Linked DNA regions of Homo sapiens: region 1 is linked to region 2. Evidence: promoter capture Hi-C in 16 types of primary human blood cells and fetal thymus (Javierre and others, 2016). All regions are on one chromosome and are shown on one strand. Each heading gives the region's core, a stretch centred on a gene start or on the middle of the fragment in contact. The rest is flanking DNA. Distances are from core to core; before and after follow the strand shown.

What was found. Contacts are between HindIII fragments. The CHiCAGO score rates a contact against its expected background, and 5 or more counts as called.
Region 1: a contact is called between a fragment that was not itself captured here and the fragment with the promoter of GNPNAT1 in region 2, in 3 of 17 cell types (erythroblasts, M2 macrophages and fetal thymus). The highest score is 8.9, in erythroblasts.

The regions. Positions count from the first base shown.
Region 1 is chr14:53,306,240-53,309,982 of GRCh38, forward strand. No RefSeq gene overlaps it. Among named protein-coding and RNA genes, the nearest start is that of DDHD1-DT, 150 kb to the left of the region's middle. RefSeq lists an enhancer at 12-306. The HindIII fragment of the contact is 2,546 bases long and covers 789-3,334 here.
Region 2 is chr14:52,789,722-52,793,482 of GRCh38, forward strand. GNPNAT1 (glucosamine-phosphate N-acetyltransferase 1) reads right to left here and starts at 1,886. Exons shown (of 6, transcript NM_198066.4): 1 at 1,707-1,886. LOC105370500 (a long non-coding RNA gene) reads left to right here and starts at 2,067. Exons shown (of 3, transcript XR_943867.3): 1 at 2,067-2,605. RefSeq lists enhancers at 1,113-1,202, 1,283-1,372, 1,480-1,993, 1,994-2,508 and silencers at 1,683-1,762, 1,863-2,082. The HindIII fragment of the contact is 20,059 bases long and covers 1-3,761 here.

The DNA of each region.
Region 1 (3,743 bases), core at 812-3,311, 520 kb after region 2:
ACTGGAATATAATTCCTGATATCCTGAAAGTGTATTTTCACATTCAGATATACAACTATACCCAGGTGTACCTATTCCCGTTAATTTTGGGCATGGCGCGGTAGCTGAGGCCCATGGATTGAAACAAAGACCGCTTCTGCCATCTGCTGGGCACTCTGAGGAACTCAAAGGATTTTTCCACAGGAAGAGGGGGAGTTTGATGAATTTCGTTTCAAATTTACTTTAGCACTTGAGAATTTAGCCAAGTATTAAACAGATTAATTTTTGCCTTTGTGAAGGCTTGCATGACTTTGATCATTCAGTCGTTTTAATGAACTCAACGTGGTTGTTTCCGATTTGGCCTTGAAAGCCTTGGCATGTCGCCGTGCTCTGAGTGGGAGCCTCGCTGCCTCCAGCTTGGGTTTCTCAGTTTTGGCAGGGCTTTCCTTCCCACTGATGGAAGATTTACAGAGGAAAAAAAAATCATTATGTCTGAAATTCTGCCAGGATACATCAGCGTATTTCCAGGCTGCCATCTACCGTGTAACTCTCTGAAGATTTAATATGAAAATTAAAAAAAAAATTGCAGTGCACCTGCTCCTAAGGAAAACTACCTTGTCGTAGGATCGCATGCTTTTATTAAATTAGAGAATTTTAAATTGTATTTATGAGGATGTACAACTTGGGTTTCTTCCCTTAGGCTTCCTGGTCTCTGTGTTAAGTACAACTTGCCTCCAAGGTCACCCTCCCACCCTCCATAATTAGCCCAGAAATTTAACAGGGGCTTCTGGCAGCAGTTTTACCCAGCAAGCTTAGCGTAGCACTATTTGTGGTCAGATCCTGAGTGATTCAGCAGCTCTACTATCCTTAGAGTCTTGTCTCATCCCACACAAAGCCCTTTTCAGACCCAGTTTGACATTCTGATATTGTACCATGGCCCCGCAGGGTCAGGGAGTATAATGTGGTGATTCAATAGCTGTCTTGGAGCAGAAAAAGGGCATTCAGTGGTGGGTTAAAGGGCAGGCTGGTGACAAGGAGGGAGCAAGACAACATTCTACAGATTCTGCAGCTTTGCTTGGCTAGGAGCGAAACATCTCACCTCGAAAAATGGCTTCAGAGGCACAAAAATTATTTTCTTTGTTACTTAGCTTTTTAGTATCAGGACCTCAGACCTGAGTTGGTAGGGTATGACTAGATAGGAGAAGTTCCTCTCTGTGGGGTCCCTTCCTTGGCATACTGTTTTGTGGTAAATGGACTGAAACAGAATTCATTGAAGTCAACTGAAGTCACTGAGAATGTCTGCTTAAGTTGTTGAACATTACAGTTTTGGTGATATGCTTGGAAGCTAAAATCCATGACGGGCTTCTCCAAATTTTATCCTCTTATTTTCTTTGACTGGTTTCTGTACCTGGTCCAGTTTTAAAAGCTATTTGTGACCATGCTGGATGTCAGAATAAGAGAGCACTCAAGAGAAGTGAGATTATTGGGTTTGGTCCATGGGATATTTCATACCTAGAGTAGCCTTCCATTTCAGAGCTATTTTAAAGCTGGTTCCTCACTTTGTTGAGAGCAGTTGAGAGCAAACTGATGGATGGGGATGTGAGAAATAAGTTCTCCTGGACATGATTTGCAGTCTATACATATTTACCTTTTAGAGAAAAAGGAAATGACAGCCACAATTTGTCCTTCGCTGATTAACATGCCATTTCTCACTGTTTTGATAAGCAACAACAACAATAAATCCCACCTCTTGCCATATTTCTCAGACCTGGGAAACTTGTGTTAAGTCAAACTTTGTTCCAAGTTGACTGTCCCACTCTGAGGGCAACTTGAAGGGGTGACAATGCCTAGATGATCTGAGTTTTACTAATACTAAGCAAATTGTGGTTATTTGCTTCGGGCAGACTGAAAGGAAATTTATCCTTGCAACATTTATGAAGATCTTGTTTGCTAAGCAACTTAGTATTATCAAGGAAGGTGGGATTGTATTGTAGAGAACTGCTTTGCTAGATAGCAGGACATTTAGGATCTGGTTTCATTCTGGCACTCACCAACTGTGTGATCCTGGCTTTTATCTTTTTAGCCTAAGTTTCCTCATCTGGAAAGTGGTTGGCATGATGATTTCTGTAGTCCTTTTAAGTTTTAGAATACCATAATCTACCTTTGCAAGAAGAAGAGTCATTTTTGAGGAATATAGATAACATTCTAATTAATCTCGTATCTTCATTTAAATAGACTTTGAAATATTATGTGAGCAGTTAAAATATAGCCCCTATTCATCTATATGTCTATCTCTCATCTACCTCTTTTTTCATTCTTTTCATTCATCTGCCTACCTGTATATATAATATTGGGTTATCAAGTAGGCAGATTAAGCCTGTACTCAAGCAGTGGTACCAAAAATATTTTGGAAATAATTTGATATATGAAAAAACTTATCAAAATGGTCATTCTGAGAAAAATTACCTTTATTAATTTCTTTATACCGATTTTATGTGTTAACATTGTATATATGGGAAGTAGTAGTCTTGTAACCTTTTAGTTTTTAGGGCTTCTATAGGTATTTATTTATTTATTTATTTAATTAATTTCAATAGTTTTTTTTGGGGAACAGGTGGTGTTTGGTTGCATGGAAAAGTTCTTCAGTGGTGATTCTGAGATTTTGGTACACCTGAGCAGTGTACACTGCACCCTATTTGTAGTCTTTTATCCCTTACCCCCCTCCCACGCTTCACCCTGAGTCCCCAGAATCCATTATTTTATTCTTAGGTGTTTGGGTCCTCATAGCTTAGCTTCCACTTATAAATGAAAACATGTGACTTTTGGTTTTCCATTTCCGAGTTACTTCATTTAGAATAATGGTCTCCAACTCCATCCAGGTTGCTACAAATGCCATTATTTCATTCCTTTTTATGGCTCAGTAGTATTCCATGGTGTGTGTGTGTGTGTGTGTGTGTGTGTGTGTGTATGTATGTATCTCACATTTTCTTTATCCACTTGTTGGTTGCTTTCATGTTTTTGCAATTGAGAATTGTGCTGCTATAAACGTGTGTGCAAGTGTGTTTTTTCATATAATAACTTATTTTCCTCTGGGTAGATACCCAGTAGTGGGACTGCTGGATCAAATTGTAGTTCTACTTTTAGTTCTTTAAGGAATCCCCATACTATTTTCGATAGTGTTTGTACCAGTTTACATACCCACCAGAAGTATAAAAGTGTTGCCTTTTCACCACATCCGTGCCAACATCTGTTAACATTGTTTTGGTCAATCTTTCCCACTTGGAATGGCTGTATTTGCCCAATGCCTGTACCCCTGTTGTATCTAGGAAGTAATTAACATGCTTTTAATTTTACAAGCTTATAGGTGGAAGGGACTTGCCTTTTCTCAGATGAGACTTTTGACTGTGGACTTTTGAGTTAATGCTGAAATGAGTTAAGACTTTAGGGGACTGTTGGGAAGCCATCATTGGTCTTGAAATGTGAGGACATGAGATTTGGGAGGGGCCAGGGGTGAAATGATATGGTTTGGCTGTGTTGCCACCCAAATCTCATCTTGAATTCCCATGTGTTGTGGGAGGACCTGGTGGGAAGTAATTGAATCATGGGGTAGGTCTTTCACATGGGAAAGAGGTTTCCCTGCACAAGTTCTCTTTCCCTGCTGCCATCCATTTAAGACATGACTTGCTCCTCCTTGCCTTCCACCATGATTGTGAGGCCTACCCAGCCATGTGGAACTGTAGTCCATTAAACCTGTTTATTTTGTA
Region 2 (3,761 bases), core at 636-3,135:
TTGCAAAACTAGGAAATTTCTGCGAATAAAATTGCACAGTTGTGTGAAGCGGAATCTCATCATATCATTAGGTTCTTTAAAGTTTTTAGATGAACTTTAAACACTAATCCTCCTTAAGTATTCCTCAGAACCTTTTCTGATTAACTGCTAAATTAGCAGGCGTTTAGAAGACCCGTTTAAGCCTAACCCTAGCCCAATAATGCCTAGTGAATGAATAACGAATAAGACTTACCTGTAGGTCACATTTCAGAAAATCCAGAAGGACAAAAAAAAAAAAAAAAAAAAAAATTCCCAAACTGCCACAATATCGCGGAAAGCATACACCAAATTCATTTTTACTAGTCATCACATCAGTTGAATATTTTTTCACTCAATTGAATATTTTTTAAACAAAACTTCAACTATTTGGCGTCTGAGCCTCTGTATCAGGTTGGAATACGAATGGGGAGAGAGGCTGCTGCTAGAAGCAACCAACGGAGAGCAACAAGTAATAGACACCGGAGATGAAGATTTTAAAAGTCGATCTACAAATTTTAAAAAATACAATCTAAGGCCAAATCTAAACCAGCCTATGTATTTCTCAAGAGCTCCTGGGGAACCTTCTAAGTACAGGTGAATGGGGGAGGGGCGGACTTCGGATTCCTTTATATTCATTTTATAACAATTTCGATAACAAGAATCCATTCTGAATCTATTCCGTTAAAGATTTTTAACACACCTGGCCATATTTATTAAATTGTGTAACTGCATGAATGTTCAAAAGTATTTTCTGATAGTTTGACCTTTACAATCTAGGCGTTATTCCCAGTCTACCGATGAGGAAGCTGGAGCACCTGGAACTCCCAAGACTTGCCCCTTAGGTAACACAGCAAGTAAGTGACTTGGGGCTAGAATCCTCGTTTTCGCATCTTGAGCTCGATTACCATCCTCAACAGACCCCAATCTTTACATCATCATACCATACAGCTAGCGCTCTCTCCCCTATTTAGCAAATCCTGCCTAAATTAATTTCTTAAGATCCATTCTAGGATTCGTTCATGAGGGATTATCCTAACAAAACGAATCCTATAATCGCCCGTTCAATTTTGTATGAAAATTTTAAATTAGTTTGGCTTACATAAACATCAGCTCCCGCAACAGAAATCACAGTACAGTACTCGGTATTTCTAGGGGTAGGAGCCTAGGAAAAAGAGACAAAGAATGTCCCTCTGTACCCTGGGGAAAGCGCCGACCTACTCGGTGCGGAGGTGGTCTTCGGAGCAGCTGCCTCAATGGCTCCGACCACCGTGGGATGCGCCCGGGAATGGGAGAAGAGAAGGGGCCTGGGACGTTCGTGCCCATTCAAAACCGATGGCTGCAGAGAGCGCGACCAACTGTCTCATTTCCCACGCCAAAGTCTGGGGAGCGAAGTTCCGACCCCAGTCCCAGTTCCAGCCCTGCCAGGCCAAGACCAGCGTATGGCCGGACCGCTGGCCATCATCCTTAACCTCTGCTCCAGGCGCGCGTGCGTTCAACTTCCTGGGAACCGCGCTCCACACCATGTGCACCCAGCTGGCGAGGATTAACGCCCAGCTCCTCCACACAACACCCCCGGGGGCCTGGCCGGGGCACCAGACACACCTGTTAGATAAACCTGAGGGCAGGCCCGCCCCAGCCCCCAGGACACACGGTCCTGCTCTCGCGCCCCGGCCCCGGTCCCTCCTCACCCGTAGAGGCCCTGCGGTCGGCGCTCCTAGCCAGGCGCGTCGGACTCTCCCCCACCAGTGTGCACAGCACCGGATCCGGATCCGGCTTCAGCGCCAGCCCCACCTCCTCCTCCACCGCCCGCGCCACAGTTGGGAACCGCGGCCCAGACGTGGCAGCGCCAACGCCTCCACCTCGCCTCTGCCCCCTCACGCAGGGCCGCGCGCAGGCGAGCGGAGGCGGAGGCCAAGGCGCCACCCGCCCAGGCCCGGAGAGCGAGGGGCGGGGCCCGGAGAGCGGGGGCGGGACCAGGAGGGCGAGGGGCGGGGCTCGGAGAGCGGGGGCGGGACCAGGAGGGCGAGGGGCGGGGCCTGAGGCTCGAGTCGCGGCGCCTGGGGCGGTGGCCGCCGGACCAAAGCTGGCCTCTCCCGGCTCCTCCTCCTCGCTCCCCAAGGCCTTTCCCACCGCGTCATTGTCTCGGTTTATCTGCAGATACGTCTACCTAGCAGTCAGCCCAGCAGCGTAAGTGGTGACCAGTGTGGGCCTCTTTGATCCTGAGACCGAAGGCTCGGCCACTGGCCCTCTCCATTTGTTCCTTGTTGCCCTCCCTTCATGATTCAATCCATTAATTAGGACTTTTCCTACCAGCTGGCAGTTCAGAGCTCCGCATCCCCAGGCCTCTGAGTCACAGTTCCTGCCTTCATGAAACTAGGAGTTGGGGCCACTGCATTCTACTCCTTCGGGACTATTGTTTCATTTCTCAGTCCCTCAAACCCTTTATTGGATGAACATGGGGTTAGGACAGCGGTTCTCCACTGCAACAGTTTTGCCTCCCAGGAGACATTTGGCAATGTATGAATCATTTTCAGCCTCTCATCTGGGGTGAGATGTCATTGGAATCTACAGATGGTGGAGGGCACAGGTGAGTAGAGGCCGGGAATACTGCTTCACGCCTTACAGTGCGCAGGACAGCGCCGCACAACAAAGAATTACCTGGCCTGAAATGTCTGGAGTGCTGAGGTTTAGAAACCTTTCGTTAGGAGAAGAAAAGTGACTTTTTTCAGAGCCCCATTTCTGAAGTGTCTTACCTAAGTAGCACTTTGTCCCTATTTTAACAGATGAGGAAACAGAGGTTCAGAGATGTTACATAATTTACAAAAGTCTCATAGCTAGTAGCTCCCCTTCCTTGCCTTGTACCATAATTTTCAATTTATTGAAATCGCAAAGTATTTTATTCTTAAGCAATAGTATTCAAAGAACCCCATAGATCATATACCAGAAATCATATTTTTTGCTCATTTGTGAGATTTAAATTTCAGTTAACTCCTTTACTGATTTATGCTTTCTCAGAACTTCAAACATCAGTGAGTTGATGGCATCCATATCTCTGTTTTTATCTCTGTTTTTACACCCATACATACAAAAGAATATATAGGGCATGAGCAGAATGTGGTGGTATGCATCCGTAGTCCCAGCTACTCCAGAGGCTGAGGCAGGAGGATCACTTGAGCCCACAAGGTTGAATCCAGCCTGGACAATAGAGCAAGACCCTGTCTCTAAAAAAAAAAAAAAAAAAAAAAAGAATATGTAAGGCATAAATAAAATAAACACTCATGGCTGGGCGTAGTGGCTCACACCTGTAATTCCAACATTTTGGGAGGCCTAAGCAAGTGGATCTCTTGAGCCCAGGAGTTTGAGACCAGTCTGTGCAACATGGTAAAAACCTGTCTCTACAAAAAAAAATACTGAAAATTAGGCAGGCATGGTGGCATGTGCCTGTAGTCCCATCTACTCAGGAGGCTGAGGTAGGAGGATAACCTGAGCCCGGGAGGCAGAGGCTGCTGTGAGCCATGATTGCAAGACTGCACTCCAGTCTGGGCCACAGAGCAAGACCCTGTCTCAAAACAAACAAAAATTTAAAAAAATGCTTATGTACACACCACTAATCTTAAGCATATGGCCCTCCCCGTTTTTCTTATCAGACTTCTGGTCAAATGTTTTCAGTGAGTTTATCCTGTACAACAAACTGCTGTATGTTTTATAAATTAGCAAAAAGTGAAACATAAGCAATTCTAAAA